2 separate regions of the Homo sapiens genome follow, and region 2 is linked to region 1. The links are contacts of gene promoters, found by promoter capture Hi-C in human tissues and cell types (Jung and others, 2019). All regions are on one chromosome and are shown on one strand. Each heading gives the region's core, a stretch centred on a gene start or on the middle of the fragment in contact. The rest is flanking DNA. Distances are from core to core; before and after follow the strand shown. Region 1 holds the start of F2RL3 (F2R like thrombin or trypsin receptor 3). Region 2 overlaps ABHD8 (abhydrolase domain containing 8).

Region 1 (4,275 bases), core at 389-2,888:
CTTCCCCACTTTGTGTCACTGGAGCAAAGAGGAGTGGGTGCCCATGCCCCGGCTGCCCCCTTCCGCAGAGGCCTTGGAGGCCACGGTGTCCCCCGGCGACCGTTGGAAGAGCCCTGCCCGCACCTTGTCCCTGAACTCGGCCGACACGTAGTAGTAGATGAAGGGATCCACGCAGCTGTTGAGGGTGCTCAGCGCCAGGCTGGGCACGTAGGCACCATAGAGGTTGCCCCAGGCGCTGGGGCTCGGGTCCGAGTAATGCAGCAGCAGCAGCAGGTTGCTGGGCACGAAGAAGGCCACGGCGGAGGCCAGCACCACTGCGGTCAGCCTCAGCGCGTGGCCGTAGCGCCGGCCGCTGGCCGCCAGCGTGTGCAGGGTGGCCCCGTAGCACAGCAGCATGGCCAGCAGGGGCAGGAAACAGCCCAACAGCGCCAGGCAGGTGAAGGCCGGTTGCCAGTGGGAGGCCTGTGCGTCCAGGGGCAGCGCGTCATGGCAGAGCACGCGATCGGAGCGCGCCAGCCGGAAGGTCTGCCGCTGCAGTGTCAGGGGCAGTGCCAGGGCGGCCGCCATGAGCCAAGCAGCCATGCAGAGTCCAAGGGCCAGGCGCCGGCCACGCAGGGCGCGGGCCCGCAGCGGGTGCACCAGGGCCAGGTAGCGATCCAGGCTGACGGCGGCCAGCAGCAGCACTGAGCCATACATGTGACCATAGAGTGCGGCCGTGGCCAGGCGGCAGGCGGCCTCCCCGAAGGGCCAGCGCTGGCCACGCAGGTGGTAGGCGATCCGCGGGGGCAGCGCCAGGGCCAGCAGGAGGTCAGCAGCCGCGAGGTTCATCAGCAGCATGGTGGAGGGCAGCCGAGGTGCCTGCGTGGCCAGCACCCACAGCGCCAGCCCATTGGCCGGCAGCCCCACCACCAGGACCAGCCCATAGAGGGCGGGCACCAGCCTGGTGGGCACCCAGCCCAGAAGCAGTGCCCGTGAGCTGTCCGGGAGCTCCAGGGTGTCACTGTCATTGGCACAGACTTGGCCTGGGTAGCCGCGGGGGGCAGGCAGGATTGAGGGCGTGCTGTCTGGGAGAGAGAGGGGACCTCAGTCAGCCCCTGCCTCGGCAGGTGACGAGAAGCAGCAGGGAGGGAGGTGCTCAGAGCCTGGGGTCTGCCCTGGTGGGAAACAGCTGGACATGACACTCAAGGGAATAGCCCAGCCCTATGGGGTCAGAGACGGGATACAGAGTGGGCTGGGCTGAAGCCCGCAACTTCCCGGCCTCCCCCTCCCCAGCTCCGGGCCCCCAGCTCCATCTCTGATGTAACCCCATCTCTGCACCCCAAAGCCAGGACCACTCACCATCACCACCTCCGGTGCTCCCGCTCTCGTCGTAGACGCTGGGGGTCTGGGTGCCGCCAGACAGGCTGAACCCCAGCACCAGGGGCCACAGGAGCAGTCGCCCCCACATGACTGCACTCAGGCTGCTCTGGGCTGTGGCCTCAGGCTTCCTGCCTCGCCGGACCCTGAGCCCCAGCTTCTGGAGCCGAGGCGGACGAGCAGATCGCGCCGGTAGAGATAAACCAGGAAGGCTGCCCCTGCCCCCGCAGACCCACCAGGGCCGCTTGCCAGCCAGCCCGTGGGAGGACTGGAGTGTGGGTTATGGAGACCGGGCTGCCCCACGTGGCTATATCCAGTGTGGCGCCTCCCAGGGACCCAGGTGCCAGGCCAGCAAGATGCAGGGGGGGGGGTCCCAGCTGCAGCCAGCACCCCCGGTCCCTGACCAGCCCAGGAAGCATCTGCGGTTCAAGTGGCCACTTCCTGCCAGCCGCTCACATCTGCAGCCACTGTTCTCACGACAGCCCTGTCCTCACCCCAATCCCCACGCCCATCACGGGCTCTGGGCCTTTCCTGAAGTCACCCCCCGACTTCCTATCTCTGGTGAGCAGGATAAGAAGAGCCCTGCTAGGCCAGGCACGGTGGCTCACGGCTGTAATCCCAACATTTTGGGAGGCCAAGGCAGGCAAATCACCTGAGGTTGGGAGTTTGAGACCGGCCTGACCAACATGGAGAAACCCCATCTCTCATAAAAATACAAAAATTAGCTGGGCTTGGTGGCAGATGCCTGTGGTCCCAGCTACTCAGGAGGCTGAGGTGGGAGAATTGCTTGAACCCAGGAGGTGGAGGTTGCAGTGAGCCGAGATCTTGCCACTGCACTCCAGCCTGGGCAACAGAGCGAGACTCGGCAAAAAAAAAAAAAAAAACCAAGGATGGGCGCCTCCCAGAGGGTAATAGCGAGGGTCCCTTCAGACCCCCAGAGCAGCACGAGCCCAGCGTCAGGGACTCTGGCTGAACCTCGAGAGCCCCTCAGCATCCTCGGCTGACCCCATACTCACAAGGCACCCCTGTATGAGTGCCTCACTTCACTCTTGCCCAGGGGACACACGGGCATCTGTAGGGGAGACAGTGATGCTGGGGACAGCACCTGCCGAGGACCGGGGGGACTTCGGGGTGTGTGGCTCGCCTGCTCTGACCTCTGACCCTGAGTGAGGTGGCCAGGTTGAAGGGTCCCCAAGCCAGCCTCCAGGGGGCCTCCCTCCTCTAGCCCCAGCACATCCCCACTCCTGGGTACCATTGGATGGGGGCTCATCGGGCAGATGAAGAAACTGAAGCTCGGGGGGGTACCCCTTCCCTCTTCTGCACAAGGCCCCTCAGTGTTGTCCCTCCCTGCCTCAGAGAGGCCTCAACCCGTCGTGCCCTGGGGGAGTCTGGTATGGGTGGTTCTGGCCCCAGTGTGCTCAGCGCTGGGCTACAGGGGATGGGGGACAGGGCTTGGGGGGGTCTGGGAGCAGGAGGGCCTAGTTGGGAGCCATGAGGATTGGGGAAAATAAAATGAACTAGGGATGGGGGAGGGAGGGGTCCAATGTGGCCGTTTCCTGCCTGGGGGAGCCCTAATCTCATCACACACTTGAGCACTCGGGGATCAGCCAGGAAGTGACTGAGCAGAGTCTTGGACAGAGTCAACACCCAGCTCCAGGAGGAGACACTGAAGCCTGGAGAGAGAGTCTAGCTGGGGCAGGGTCTCAGAGGCCCTGCTCCCATTTCTGGGCAGTTTCCATGGCCACCAATGAGAAAATCAGCTTCACGTCAATGACTTGGGGAAAAAGGTGGCTGAGGACACCCTCAGCACACGGAAAACCCACGCCTGGGCTCCCCCCTCCACCGTCTTCTCTGTGAGCAGAGTGGGAAGCTGTGCAGGGGAGGCTGGGCACACCGGCAGTCCAGTGATGCTGGGGCAGGGTGGTTTGAAGATGATGCATCAAAATAGTGATGCACGACCGGGCGCAATGGCTCACGCCTGTAATCCCAGCACTTTGGGAGGCCAGGTGGGTGGATCACGAGGTCAAGAGATCGAGACCGTCCTGGCCAACATGGTGAAAACCCGTCTCTACTAAAAATACAAAAATTAGCCAGACATGGTGGCGCACGTCTGTAGTCCTAGCTCCTCAGGAGGCTGAGGCAGGAAAATCTCTTGAACCCAGGACGCAGGGGTTACAGTGAGCTGAGATCACACCACTGCACTCCAGCCTGGGCAACGGAGCGAGACTCCGACTCAAAAAAAAAAAAAAAAAAAAAAAAAAGCCAGGCACAGTGGCTCACACCTGTAATCCCAGCACTTTGGGAGGCAGAGGCGGGTGGATCACCTGAGGTTGGGAGTTCGAGACCAGCCTGACTAACATGGAGAAACCCCATCTCTAGTAAAAATACAAAATTAGCTAGGCATGGTGACATATGCCTGTAATCCCAGCTGCTCGGGAGGCGAGGCAGGAGAATCACTTGAACATGGGAGGCAAAGGTTGCAGTGAGCCGAGATTGCATCATTGCACTCCAGCCTCACTCCAGCCTGGGCAACAAGAGTGAAACGCGTCTCAAAAAAAAAAAAAAAACATAGTGACGCACATGCCCTTATACTCAAGGGTTCCATGTCTAGGAATTTCTGCCAGACACACGCACAGGAAGATGTCCTTGGGAGGATATCCACACAGCAGCACAAAGCAGGGAGGTGCCCGCCAACAGCCCCTCCCCGGGAACAACACGGCAGCACAGGCTGTCGGGGGAACCCCAGCAAGCAGAGGTGACGATGACATTGCCCCTGTCAGGCACAAGCTGTACCCAGGCGACACTGCCCAGGTACTTCCCGGAGGACGCTGGGCGCGACAGCTTTGGAGGAGAGGAAACCATGTGTCTGTTTTGTACTGTTGGAGTTTTCTGTGCACTGTGTTACTTTCCATAAAAACT
Region 2 (4,492 bases), core at 278-2,777, 410 kb before region 1:
GGCCATAAATGGTATAAACTCCAGCTGGGGGGAGGGGGTGTCTTCCGGCTGGTCCACATTTGCCACAATGTCCCCTTCTCCAGGAACATCCCCACACAAGACGCCACCACCTTCCCTGTGGACACCCTGTGGGGTAAGCCATAGCCAAGTCTTTCTCTCTGAGGATAGACTAGGGTGACCCAGGAGGGTAACTACCACAAAGGCACTGCTCAGACAAAACATGTCAGTGCACGGTGGCTCACACCTATAATCCCAGCACTTTGGGAGGCCGAAGCAGGAGGAAAATTTGAGGTCAGGAGTTCAAGACCAGCCTGGCCAACATGGTGAAACCCCATCTCTACAAAAAATACAAAAATTAGCTAGACATGGTGGCACCTGCCTATAATCCCAGCTACTCAGGAGGCTGAGGCAAGAGAATCGCTTGAACCCAGGAGGGGGAGGTTGCAGTAAGCCGAAATCCGGCCACTGCCCTCCAGCCTGGATGACAAAGCGAGACTGTCTCAAAAACACACACACACACACACACACACACACACACAAACAAAAAAATCTCAGTGCCGTGGCTCACTTGATCTGGCGCTCCCCAAACTGGAGTCTAAAACAGTTCTCCCAAGGCTCAGGGAGTGCCTGCTGCACGGTGCAGGGTTCTCATTGAGACAGCACCTGAACTGGCTGCTGTCCTCACTCACAGGACACACCATGCTGACCGGGGTGACCGACGGTATCTTCTGTTGCCTGCTGGGCACGCCCCCCAACGCCGTGGGGCCACTGGAGAGCGTCGAGTCCAGCGATGGCTACACCTTTGTAGAGGTCAAGCCCGGCCGCGTGCTGCGGGTGAAGCATGCAGGACCCGCCCCAGCCGCTGCCCCACCTCCACCATCATCCGCATCCTCGGATGCAGCCCAGGGGGACCTCTCCGGCTTGGTCCGCTGTCAGCGCCGGATCACCGTGTACCGCAATGGGCGGTTGCTGGTGGAAAACCTGGGCCGAGCCCCTCGAGCCGACCTCCTACACGGGCAGAATGGCTCTGGGGAGCCGCCGGCCGCCCTGGAGGTGGAGCTGGCAGATCCGGCGGGCAGCGATGGCCGCTTGGCCCCCGGCAGCGCAGGCAGCGGCAGCGGCAGTGGCAGTGGTGGGCGGCGGCGGCGAGCCAGGCGCCCCAAGAGGACCATCCATATTGACTGTGAGAAGCGCATCACTAGCTGCAAAGGCGCCCAGGCCGACGTGGTGCTCTTTTTCATCCATGGTGTCGGCGGTTCCCTGGCCATCTGGAAGGAGCAGCTGGACTTCTTTGTGCGCCTAGGCTATGAGGTGGTGGCTCCTGACCTGGCCGGCCACGGGGCCAGCTCTGCGCCCCAGGTGGCCGCAGCCTACACCTTCTATGCGCTGGCTGAGGACATGCGAGCAATCTTCAAGCGCTATGCCAAGAAGCGAAATGTGCTCATTGGCCATTCCTACGGGTAAGTGAACCCTGGCATGTGGGGTGGGGGTGAGGGATGGGGTCAGCAGGGACTACAGTCACAAAATACTGAGTTTTTGGCTGAGCCCCGTGGCTCACGCCTGTAATCCCAGCACTTTGGGAGGCCGAGGCAGGCGGATCACCTGAGGTTGGGAGTTCGGGAACAGTCTGGCCAAGGTGGTGAAACCCCGTCTCTACCAAAAATACAAAAATTAGCCAGACGTGGTGGCACGCGCCTGTAGTCCCAGCTACTCGGGAGGCTGAGGCAGAGGAATCACTTGAACCGAGGAGGTGGAGGTTGCAGTGAGCCGAGATTGTGTCACTGCACTCCAGCCTGGGCGACAGAGGGAGACTCTGAGATGCCACTGACACCTGTAATCCCAGTGCTTTCGGGGGCCAAGGCGGGAGGATATCTTGAGGCAAGGAGTTTGAGACCAGCCTGGGCAACATAGGGAGAACCCCCTAGCTCTACAAAAAGTACAAACATTAGCTAGGTGAGGAGGTGCACGCATATAGTTCCACCTACTTAAGGGCTGAGGCAGGAGATTGCTTGAGTCTGGGAGGTCGAGGCTGCAGTGAACTGTGATCACACCACTGCACTCCAGCCTGGGCAGCATGGCAAGAACCTGTCGCTCTTTAAAAAAGAAAAAAAAATCCGGGCGCGGTGGCTCACGCCTGTAATCCCAGCACTTTGGGAGGCTGAGGCGGGCGGATCACGAGGTCAGAAGATTGAGACCATCCTGGCTAACACGGTGAAACCCTGTCTCTACTAAAAATACAAAAAATTAGCTGGGTGTGGTGGTGGGCACCTATAGTCCCAGCTACTCGGGAGGCTGAGGCAGGAGAATGGCATGAGCACGGGAGACGGAGCTTGCAGTGAGCCAAGATCATATTGTGCCACTGCACTCCAGCCTGGGCGACAGAAGGAGACTCCGTCATGAAAAAAAAAAAAGGGGCCACCACGCGCGGTGGTGCACATTTGTAATCCCAGCACTTTGTGGATGGATCATTGGAGATGAGTTTGGACAACATGGCAAAACCTTATCTCCTAAAACAAAACAAAGCAAACAAAAATCCTAATTTTTCTCCTTGAAAAAAATCCCATTTTTCAATTTAATTTTTACATTTTTAAAATTTTTTTTTCTTTTAAATAGAGATGGCATCTCACTATGTTGCCCAAGATGTTCTTTAACTACTGGGCTCAAGTGATCCTTGCACCTCAGCCTCCCAAAGTGCTAGGACTACAGGTGTGAGTCATTGTGCTCAGCCTTAATTTTTTTTTTTTTTTTTTTTTTTGAGATGGAGTCTCACTCTGTCCCCCAGGCTGGAGTGCAGTGGCGTGATCCTGGCTCACTGCAAGCTCCACCTCCCAGGTTCATGCCATTCTCCTGCCTCAGCCTCCCTAGTAGCTGGGACTACAGGCACCCGCTACCATGCCTGGCTAATTTTTTGTCTTTTTAGTACAGACGGGGTTTCACCGTGTTAGCCAGGATGGTCTCGATCTCCTGACCTCGTGATTCGCCCTCCTCGGCCTCCCAAAGCGCTGGGATTACAGGCGTGAGCCAACGCACCAGGCCAATTTTCAAGTTCAAAAAAAAATTATATAGAGAATGGGGGGGGGGTCTCATTATGTTGCCCAGGCTGGTCTTGAACTCCTGGGCTCAAGCCATCCTCCCTCCTTGGCCTCCCGATGTGGTGGGGTAACAGGCATGAGCCGCTATACCAGGCTGAAAACTCCCATTAGCATATGTAATCAGACAGGGATTTCCGTCATCACTGATATTGTTTCACATTGTTCTAAAGCAGTGTTGCTCAGGCCAGGTGCAGTGGCTTACGCCTGTAATCCTAGCACTTTAGGAAGCCAAAGCAGGCAGATCACTTGAGGTCAGGAGTTCAACACCAGTTTGGCCAACATGGTGAAACCCCATCTCTACTAAAAGTACAAAAAATTAACCAGGCATGATGGTGTGTGCCTGTAATCCCAGCTACTCGGGGGTGTGAGGCAGGAGAATCACTTGAACCTGGGAGGCAGAGGTTGCAGTGAGCCAAGATCACACCACTGCACTCCAGCCTGAGCAACAGAGTGAGACTCTGCCCAAAAAAAAAAAAAAAAAAAAAAAAGCAGTGTTGTTCAATCCCAGCACTATCGTGTTTGGCCAGGTTATTTTTTTTCTGTGAGGGGCTATAGGATGTTTAGTAGCATCCCTGGCTTCTGCCCACTGGATGCAACTACACAATCTAGTGTTGATCATGACAGTCAAAAATGTCTTCAGTAGTTGCCAAGCGTGCCCTGGTGGGCAGAATTACCCCCAGCTGAGAACCACTGCCTTAGACTAAGTTAAAAAATCAACTGCCCTGGAGAACACTGTGCATTCAGGAAGCGCTCATCGGAATCCTGTAAATTCTAGGCATTTACAAAGGCATGGGTTACTGTAATTCACTCCTGCTTAAAGGGCAGGTAATACAACCTAAAACTTACCAAGAACCCCTCCATGGAAGGCTTGGTCCCCAGGGCTTGACCACTACCAAGTGGCCTCATTCTCTCCTTTATCCAGGAAGAAAGGCAAGATTGAACAGCCAGGCAAGTTGAGCACCACTGTTTTAGAGATTCTAGCCTATGCAATTAGACAAGAAAAAAAGGCCAGGCGTGGTGGCTCACACCTGTAATCCCAGCAATTTGGGAGGCCGAGGCGGGCGGATCAGGAGGTCAGGAGATCAAGACCATCCTGGCTAACACGGTGAAACCCCGTCTCTACTAAAAAATACAAAAAAAAATTAGCCAGGCATGGTGGCAGGCGCCTGTAGTCCCAGCTACTCAGGAGGCTGAGGCAGGAGAATGGCGTGCACCCAGGAGGTGGAGCTTGCAGTGAGCCGAGATTGTGCCACTGCACTCCAGCCTGGGTGACAGAGTGAGACTCCATCTCAAAAAAAAAAAAAAAGAAAAAAGAAAAATAAATAAGTGGCCAGGTGTGGTGGCTTACACCTATAATCCCAACACTTTGGGAAGCTGAGGTGGGAGGACTGCTATAGCTG

What was found. Contacts are between HindIII fragments. The study calls those that stand out against the background at their distance.
Region 2: a fragment that was not itself captured here is called in contact with the fragment with the promoter of F2RL3 in region 1 in 1 of the 25 tissues and cell types used here (spleen).

Annotation. Positions count from the first base shown.
Region 1 is chr19:16,886,362-16,890,636 of GRCh38, reverse strand. It overlaps F2RL3 (F2R like thrombin or trypsin receptor 3), which reads right to left and starts at 1,638. Exons shown (of 2, transcript NM_003950.4): 1 at 1,339-1,638; 2 at 1-1,064. The coding sequence starts at 1,447. The coding sequence ends at 16. RefSeq lists enhancers at 364-963, 4,054-4,275. The HindIII fragment of the contact is 19,143 bases long and covers 1-4,275 here.
Region 2 is chr19:17,297,824-17,302,315 of GRCh38, reverse strand. It overlaps ABHD8 (abhydrolase domain containing 8), which reads left to right. Exons shown (of 5, transcript NM_024527.5): 2 at 692-1,460. The coding sequence starts at 700. It also overlaps a transcript of MRPL34 not described here. Among named protein-coding and RNA genes, the nearest start is that of ABHD8, 3.4 kb to the left of the region's middle. RefSeq lists enhancers at 354-854, 855-1,355. The HindIII fragment of the contact is 7,858 bases long and covers 1-4,492 here.